Linked DNA regions of Homo sapiens: region 1 is linked to region 2. The links are contacts of gene promoters, found by promoter capture Hi-C in human tissues and cell types (Jung and others, 2019). All regions are on one chromosome and are shown on one strand. Each heading gives the region's core, a stretch centred on a gene start or on the middle of the fragment in contact. The rest is flanking DNA. Distances are from core to core; before and after follow the strand shown.

Evidence for each region. The method cuts DNA at HindIII sites, captures the fragments that hold promoters and counts their contacts. A contact is called where the count stands out against the background at its distance.
Region 1: a fragment that was not itself captured here is called in contact with the fragment with the promoter of HELZ in region 2 in 1 of the 25 tissues and cell types used here (heart left ventricle).

Annotation. Positions count from the first base shown.
Region 1 is chr17:67,846,439-67,851,226 of GRCh38, reverse strand. The region is part of intron 1 of BPTF (bromodomain PHD finger transcription factor); the gene reads right to left. Among named protein-coding and RNA genes, the nearest start is that of BPTF, 23 kb to the right of the region's middle. The HindIII fragment of the contact is 3,640 bases long and covers 1,259-4,788 here.
Region 2 is chr17:67,242,926-67,247,107 of GRCh38, reverse strand. It overlaps HELZ (helicase with zinc finger), which reads left to right and starts at 1,912. Exons shown (of 33, transcript NM_014877.4): 1 at 1,912-1,960; 2 at 3,269-3,324. HELZ-AS1 (HELZ antisense RNA 1) reads right to left here and starts at 2,332. Exons shown (of 4, transcript NR_136398.1): 1 at 1,900-2,332. RefSeq lists silencers at 895-1,094, 1,105-1,194, 1,745-2,234, 2,335-2,384 and enhancers at 714-1,700, 1,701-2,688. The HindIII fragment of the contact is 25,130 bases long and covers 1-4,182 here.

The sequences.
Region 1 (4,788 bases), core at 1,829-4,328, 600 kb before region 2:
CAGTCACGAAGGCCCCTTGTGACTGGACCTCATGCCAAACAACTCGTTACAAAAAGAGCTAGGGTCCCAGACTCTGCCGAAGCTTCATGAGACCTCTCCTTGTCTGTGCACAGATAAGTGGCCGACTCTGGAGCCCAGGCTGTTGCTTCCCAGTCTGGTGATGAATCCTCCATAGTCTGGTGAGTGTAAATATATATACCTCTTTTCCCTTCTCCTCTTTCCATTACAATTTGCTTATTGTATCAATTTGCTTATTATATCATTTGTTTATTATATCTGCATTGCCATTTACATGGGATAAAGCTTGTTTACCCTTAAAGGTATTGTGTGTGTGTCTTTTCTTCTCCCCTAGCATGTTTCCCACACAGAACAATGCAGAGCATTTAATATGTTTATAAAAGCAAAGAAACAATCAACCAAGCTGAAAACAACCAAAATGTCCATCAACAGGAAAACAGTCAAATTGTGGCTTATTCATTGGATAGAATTCTGTAGATCAATTTTGAGTAATTTAGGGCTATGCATATCAACATGGATCAATCTTAAAAACAAAAACACAGGGCCAGGTACAGTGGCTCATGCCCGTAATCCTAGCACTTTGGGAGTCCAAGGTGGGCAGATCACGAGGTCAGGAGTTCCGGACTAGCCTGGCCAATATGGTGAAACCCCGTCTCTAAGAAAAATACAAAAATTAGCTGGGCATGGTGGCACACACCTGTACTCCCAGCTACTTGGGAGGCTGAGGCAGAAGAACCGCTTGAACCCAGGAGACGGAGGTTGCAGTGAGCCGAGATCATGCTACTGCCAGCCTAGGCAACAGAGCGAGACTCTGTCTCAGAAAACAAACAAACAAACAAAAACACCATGAGGCAAAAGAAAAGTTAAGTTTTACAATATAAAACCATGGAAATACAGTTTATATACTACTTACGGATGAATACATACATGAACTAGTAGTTAATATCACCACTAGAATATAATCTCCTTAACGACAGGGATTTTTTAAGTTTGCCAATGTTAAGTAGTGGCTAGCATATAATAAGCTATTAAATAAACATTTATTACAAGAATTAGTAGTTTTGAAAGTGCTAGCCCATGCACTTACACAAGAAAATGATATCCTTGCATTATCTGACAACATTAGAAATGTGTTTTGATTTCTACGTAAGTAAATACAGGACTACAGTGAGAAGCCTTAAAACAGTGGTTCTCAAACTTCAGAGTGCATATGTCACTGATTCAATAGGCCTAGAATAGAGTCTGAGAACCTGAATTTTTTTTTTTCTGAGATGGAGTCTTGCTCTGTTGCCCAGGCTGGAGTGCAGTGGCACGATCTCAGCTCACTGCAACGTCTGTCACCTAGGTTCAAGTGATTCTCCTGCCTCAGCCTCCCGAGTAGCTGGGACTACAGGTGCCCACCACCATGCCCGGCTAATTTTTTTTGTATTTTTAGTATAGAAGGGGTTTCCCCATGTTGGCCAGGCTGGTCTCAAACCCCTCACCTCAAGTGATCCACCCGCCTTAGCCTCCCAAAGTTATGGGATTACAGGTGTGAGCCACCACGCCCAGCCGAGAACTTGCATTTCTAACAATTCCCAGGTTGTGCTGTTCTGGCGAACCATACTCTGAGAAACACCTCCCTATATCCTGATAGGTTATTTTCCCTAAGATCCAGATAAGTAAAAATTAATACACATTAGATGAAATTCCAGAAGTTACCTTCAAACCTTGCTATTCATTGAATGTCATGAAAATACTGGAAAAACAAACAAAAAATAAAAAACAAAAAACTTGCTACTCGACAAGTGACTGGCATTATCATGTTTGAGAGAAATTCAGAATCTCAGGCCCAAGCCCAGGCCTACTAAATTAGGATCTGCAGTTTCTCACGATCTTCAGGTGATTTATATGGTCACTGAAGTTTGAAAAGCTGCCCTGAAATGGAGGTGCAGCAAAAATCATCTGGTAAATTGTTAAAAGTAATCTCAAATGCAACCCAAATTCACAGAACCCCAGGTGAAGCTCAGTAATCTATATTTTTATCCTTCTCCCCAAATGATTCTGATGTGCGGCAAGTTTGAAAACCACTACTTTAAAGAAAATGGATACTCCCCTTACCAAGCAGAAAGGGTTTTGGAAACTCATGCAAGGGAAGCAAAAAGATGCCTCAGGAGGCACGATTACAACAGGATTGATGCAAAGGGAAGCTGAAGCTTAACCAAAGACATTAATGTACGCCCACAAAAGAAACTGCTAAGGAAGTCAAGTGGTCTGCATGAATTCTGAAGAAAAATGGAGAATCAAAGAACAAAATTTGTCAATGAATTTCCAGCACAGTCTAGGTTAAGGGAGTGAATTTCCTGACTGAATGGCAAACTCTGGACCACCTGATAGCTTATTACCTCGACGGAGTAATTATGTTACAATGTATAGGTATTCTAATTAGAATGACCTGGCAGTTATTGAGACAAAATTTTCTGCTCCTTTGTATTCTGTAACACAAAAGGGATCTACATGGATGTTCTCTTCTCTGAACTGTTCGGATGAACTGGTCAACAGCACTCATCATGCCTTGGTTTTTAAATACGCACTGTAGTCATAATCTGTTAATTAATTTCTCATATTTTTAATTTTAAAAAAAAGTTTGCCTACATATTTTAGACAGAAATTGCCTTACTTTGCTGAAATTCTGAGAAACCCTAGACAGTTTTCAAGGCCGGGCTCAAATGTCACCTCTACTACCCTTTGCTGTGCCTCCAGGTGCTGTGCTTCTGACACTTTGTACGGTCCTCCATGACAGCGTGAGCACAATTATATTACAGGCAATTACTCATGCCCCCTGGCTCATTTGTTGACTCCTTTAGAGGACAGATCATGTTTTAGTTATTGTAGCAACTAAAAAAATATTTGTTCAACCAATGACACCCATAAACAAAACTACCTGCCGAGGGCAGAGATGCAGGGGTAAAGTCATGCCAAGATCAAATCCCAGAAACCACTGTCGATTTTTTAGAGTTGACCCCTACATTTATTGTACTAATTCAAAAAAAAAAAAGAATTTACAGTGTTTTCAGACTTCTAGACCTCAAAAGGCAACTCTCTATATAATGTGTGTTTCTAGAAGGAAAAAATGTAACATTGTCCCCTTATTTCTGATTGGTATCTGAGAGAAAGTGGCCTCACTCGGTATTGGTATAGAGAAGGGGGAAGTTCATTTCCAGCCGAAGTTAATACTCCAGAACTAATAAAATCTAATTATTTAATCTACTGTTACATATATATAAACCATGAATGGCACATCAAGAAGAAATAACCTGTGATGCATTGAAATCTTTTAAAAATTATGAAACTTAGTTGTCAAATGTAACAAGGATTCACCTTTTCATGTGGAATAGTGTCCCAATCTAGCATTAACGTTATTACTGAACAAGGTTATGCTCTTCCAGTACATTCCATTTGCCCCCAATCCCTATCTTCTGTGTCAGTAATAATATAAAAATCAGCAGCTAGCTTTTATAGAGTGCTTTCTTTTTTCTTTTTTTTTTTTTTTTTGAGACGGAGTCTGGCTCTGTCGCCCAGGCTGGAGTGCAGTGGCGCAATCTAGGCTCACTGCAAGCTCTGCCTCCTGGGTTCAAGCCATTCTCCTGCCTCACTCCCAAACAACTGGGATTACAGGTGCCCACCACCACACCCGGATAATTTTTTTTTTTTTTTAGACGGAGTCTCACCCTGTCACCCACGCTGGAGTGCAGTGGCGCGACCTCTGCTCACTGCAAGCTCTGCCTCCCCGGTTCACGCTATTCTTCTGCCTCAGCCTCCCGAGTAGCTGGAATTACAGGCATGTGCCACCACGCCCGGCTAATTTATTATTTTTAGTAGAGATGGGGTTTCACCATGTTGGCCAGGCTGGTCTCGAACTCCTGACCTCAGGTGATCCACCCACCTCGGCTTCCCAAAGTGCTGGGATTACAGGTGTGAGCTAACACGCCTGGCCTAGAGAGTGCTTTCTATTTGCCAGACATTGTGCTAAGTAAGCATTTTAAAGTGCATTATCTTATTTTTATCCTCAGATCAACTCCATAAAATAGATACCATTATTACTTCCTTTCAAAGATGTTTATAGAGAGGCTAAATGACTTGTCCAAGGTCACAGCCAGTACCACTAAGAGTTACAACCAACACAGGTCCCAAATAAAACAAAAAAACAACAACAAACCCACAAGTCCAGCTGGGCTTGGTGGCTCATGCCTGTAATTCCAGCACTTTGGGAGGCCAAGGCGGGTGGATCACTTGAGGTCCGGAGTTTAGGACCAGCCTGGCCAACATGGCGAAACCCTGTCTCTACTAAAATAACAAAAATTAGCTGGGTGTGGTGACGTGTGCCTGTAATCCCAGCTACTCCAGAAGCTGAGGCACTAGAATTGCTTGAACCCAAAGGGCAGAGGTTGCAGTGAGCCCAGACTGTACCACCGCACTCCACCCTAGGCGACAGGGACCCTGTCTCCAAACAAACAAACAAACCCACACAAGTCCTAAGCTATGGTCTTTACTACTATATTAGACTTCCTCCCATATTGTTAAAAACCACCTGACTTGACCTCTCAGTGAAAGGGAATTTGAGAAATAACAAGTGCCTATTGTGCAGGTGGGAGAAATGACAGATAAAGGAGACAAATCAGTGAAGTGACAATGTTATAAAGTATGAGACCTGAACAAAAATTTCAGGTGCTTACTTAATAGCCATGTGTCTCGTGGCTACCATACAGGACAGTACACATACAGAATATT
Region 2 (4,182 bases), core at 663-3,162:
ACCATTAAGCCAGTGCATACCAGTGGCTAAATAAGTGCAAAAGAGGAATTGGAAAAGAAGCACCTGGGGTACCCTGGAAAGAGACATTGGAGCCTTCTTCAGACGGGCCAAGCATTCCCTTTTCCAGCAGGAGGGGCGCTGCCTCCCCCCAGCCTAGCCCATGCCCTTGGTGGCTACCTTGCTGGGCCGTCTAAGAACCTGGCTCCAGGCTCCAGTTTCTCCACTTATTCCGAGGTGAGAAGCAGGTGACTCAGGGGAGGTTGCTCCCCAGCACGCTGCGTTCTTGGCTGGGAATGACTCACTACCTCGTTCCCTCCTTCACGAGTGACCCGGGGCCAATCCCTTAATGTGTCTACACCTTCTCATCAGACCGGGACAATTGCCTGGTGGAGTTTTTGGCTCCCCAGGGGCAGGGCTCCTGTCTGCCACCGTTCACGTTCCTAGTGAGGCTGTTGATAGGGTCTGGAGGAGCGTAAAATCCTCGGGTAGATCCAAGGCCCCAGGCCCTCCCCGTGCACCGAAAGAGGGTTTTAATGCCAGTGCTTCTGCGGTCTTCTAAAGGTAGAGCCGTTCAACAGCATTTTGTACCGAATACAATTCGCAAGCATTCCTGTCTTGGAGAATTTTCTTTTGGGTATCTCCTTGTTGTAAAAACTTGCTTGGAAAAAAAAAAAAGCAACTGGAGCAGGCCTCCAAAGACAGCAAAGCAGGGACCAGAGGCTCTGCGGAGAGCGCGGGAGGAGGCTGACCAAGGGGCCTCCGTTGCTGGGGGGACCTGGGCGGCTGGACGCCGGGGTCAGTACGCTGCTCGCCCCGCGCAGCCGAAAGCGGGCGTGGTGTCGCGGGGAGAGGATGCCCGGCAGCAGTGTGGCCGGCGGGCTGGGGGTACTCGCCCGGGTCAGAGACCTCAGCCCGCGCCAAGGCGCCCCACACTTTCCAGCGCAGCGGGTCGCAGCCCGGAGACGCCGGGCGTCCCCACCTCCAGCCTCCCGAGCTGCAGCGGCGCCCGCGGTTCTCCCCCGACCCGCCAGGTGGACCCGGACTGGCGCACCCTGCTTTCCGCCCGGGACCCTCCCCCGAGCCCTGGCTGCCTCCGCGCCCCGCCCCGCCCGGAGCCCGCAGCCGGCGCCCCGGATTACCTGCCCCGGAGTCACAGTCCGCAGCCCGGACGCTCCCAGGGTGGCTCCGCGGAGCCTGGAGCCACATTCCTAGGGGAGGGGTCCCCACCTAGAGGGTCGCGGATCACGTTACCCGCCCGGAGGAGGAGACCGCGGGACACAGAGTAAACAAGGGGTAAAAAGTTGCATTTGGCTCAATTTTTTTTTTTAAATCGTGCTTCGACGCTGGTGGACTCGGGGACACGGCGTCCTCCCAGTTCCCGGAGCCCAACGGCCCCGGGGCGGTTTCCCAGGGCAGAGGCACCTCTCCGGGCGGCGGGTGCGGAGCTGGTCTGCGCGGCCTCTGAAGGCGACCCCGGCCGCTCGCGGGCTTCCTGGAAGCGCGGCCGCAGGAGCAGAAACGCTCACATCCACGCGCACAAATAAATCCGCGAGCAGCTCCGCGCCGCGCCGCGGGCGGCAAGGAAACCTCGGGTTGATTCAATGCAGACGCGGGGCGTCTGCCCGGGCAGGAACGCGGCGAGGCGAGAGGACCGGGCGTGGGGGCAGGGAGGCCGGGGCAGGAGAAAGGGAGAAAACCCCAAAGCCACGTTTTAAAAATGCGGGTGAATTTTCAATGCCGTCAGCCCGGGGGAGGGGAAGGGGCCAGCTGCGGGCGCCGGGGTCGGCAGTCCACCCGGGGCAACTTTCCGGGCGGGAGGCGCGGCCGGAGGGGGCGGCGCCGGCGGCGGGAGGCGGGAGTCGGGGGCCGGGGGGAGTCACTTTAAAGGCTCTTTCTTACCCATAATGCTTTGTGGGGACGTTGACAAGTGGATCCAAGATGGCGTAGAAAGTAATGACAGGTAAGTCCTGACTTCCCCCTTCTCTGCTCCTGGGGCCGCTCCGCGAGCTCCCGGAGCTCTCCGGGGAGGGGACCCGACTCCCCTCCGGTGTCCCGGACCCCGGGCGCGGCGGCCCCGGGGCAGGCTGGGGGCCTGGGCGGCCCGCGGCTGGGCCTGGGAAGCGCGGCTCTTCGAGGCGAGGCCCGGACGCTGGGGCTGTTTACAGCTTCTTCCCCTACTTAGTCCCCTTCCCCTCCGCTGGGGCCCGCAGCGTCCTGGGCCCTGGCAGGAGAGGGGGCCTTGCACGCCTGGCCCGGGAGCCTGCGGGAGGTTTCTCCGGCCCAGAGCACTCTGGGAGGGGGACTCGAGCCTCCCGGCACGTTCCCCTCCTCCGGGTCGCGGCTGGGGGTGGGGAGCGTGCGGGCCTCCCACGCCCCGCTCGATGCCCCCCCTCAGGCCTCGGACTTCCACCGGGTGGGGTGGGGGCTGGAGCGGGGGCGTGGGGAAAAGTGGGTCAGGCGTGCGCCCCCTCCCTCCCCCGCGGAGGGCTCTCGGCCCGAGATTCACTTTCTTCCCCCCTTTCCCCGCCCCCTCCTCGGAAATGCTCTTTGGCCCACAAGCACATCAACAAAAATAAAGATAGGCTCTCTTTTCCTGGAGATTCCTTGAGAGTACTCCAGTACCCTTTTCAAGGGCTCACAGACTGCAGTCTTACCTAGGGAACTTCGATTCCTCTCCCCTAAATTATTGGAGCCTTCTGCACCCTCGCCTTTGCTGAGAAATCTTCAGACAGGGCTGGAAGCCAGGGTCCTCTGATTGTTCTTGGATCGGGATCCTCAGGTTTTGTTTGCAGTTCAAAAATTGTCATTCCTTCTCCCTCACAACTTAACACTTCTCAGGCAAATCATTAATATAATAAAAAGTGTAACTTCAGAGACAGTGGATTCCTGGAGCGGGGGAAGGAGGGAGGAGTTGTCTGTCTTGCCTAGTTTGTTCTTAATTTTGCTCTCTCTTAAACTCATATTAATGAAATTTCCTCTCCTTCATTTCTTTATGTTTTTGAAAGTAAGGTCAGTCTGTGTTGAAAAAGATGATTTTATTATGTTTTTGAGTTTTAAGAGCATTGTATAATCTATTCTTTTACCTTACTGAAAGGAAATGTTTTAAGGTCAAAAACCAGACTCATTTGCAAAGCTGCACACTGTACCATTTTTGTAACTTTTTCCATTTTAAATGTAGATGCCCTTTCACTTCAGGCTGATAAAATGTTTGCTACTGATAATGTCTGTTACTGGTGTTGTATGGAAACATCTTTTCTATTTGCCTCAGGATTTGGATGAAGTAATGGATCACTAATGAACTACAGTGCTGGTGAGATGTGTAAGGTGAGACTGCAGTTAAAAATGATTTCCTTTTTTTCCTTCTTTATTTTAATCAACTGGTAAGAGTAAGGCTGAAACTGAGTAATTTGATGGGGCCATCTTTGTTTTCCAAATGTATCACTCAGTCAGTGGGTCTATGGGCAGGGCTAGATTTAGAAAGGAAAAATATGTTGAATGTACCAATCTTTTCAGTTGCTCCAACATACTCAAACATAGTGGTACTTAACTAAGAGCCAAATGTTACTTGCAGCTATTCTTGATCAGTATCTTCACCAGGGATAATTATAGTTTGCCTATTCAAATTTTCTTGCGTAACTTTACTTGGATGTCTTAATTTTATTTGTGTTTTGGTGTCTATCACCTACTGTACGTTTAGTCCCGGTGATTATGTATATGGATTTTGTGTGTACCTGGTTTGTGGGACTCGTAAAGTATACCCTTTCCGTTAGAAAGAATTAGGCAGGTCAATCACTCCTGCTTTTATTTTCTGAAAAATGGAGTAGTACTTTTCTCTTTAATAATTATTTTGAAATAAAGATGATAGTGTTGAGATCTGTTTAGCTTATTAGGAAATAGACTAGTTTGTCATTATGTCCTGATCACACACGGTGTGTGAATTTATTCAAAGTGCTTTATTTAATCTAATTTGTAATGCTTTGGATTTAAAGGATATTATTGATACAGTGTTAGTGAATAGTTTTCTGTGCTATAGAGAGGAAGAGAAGTTTGCTACTTTTACATTTTTCACGAGTTTTCTCAACTTAAAATGTTTTACTAAGTTTTTTTTTAGAAAAATAATAAGTAATTGTGGTCGATTGGTTACTGTAGTTTTTTTTTTGTTGTTTCTCCACACATCTGGGC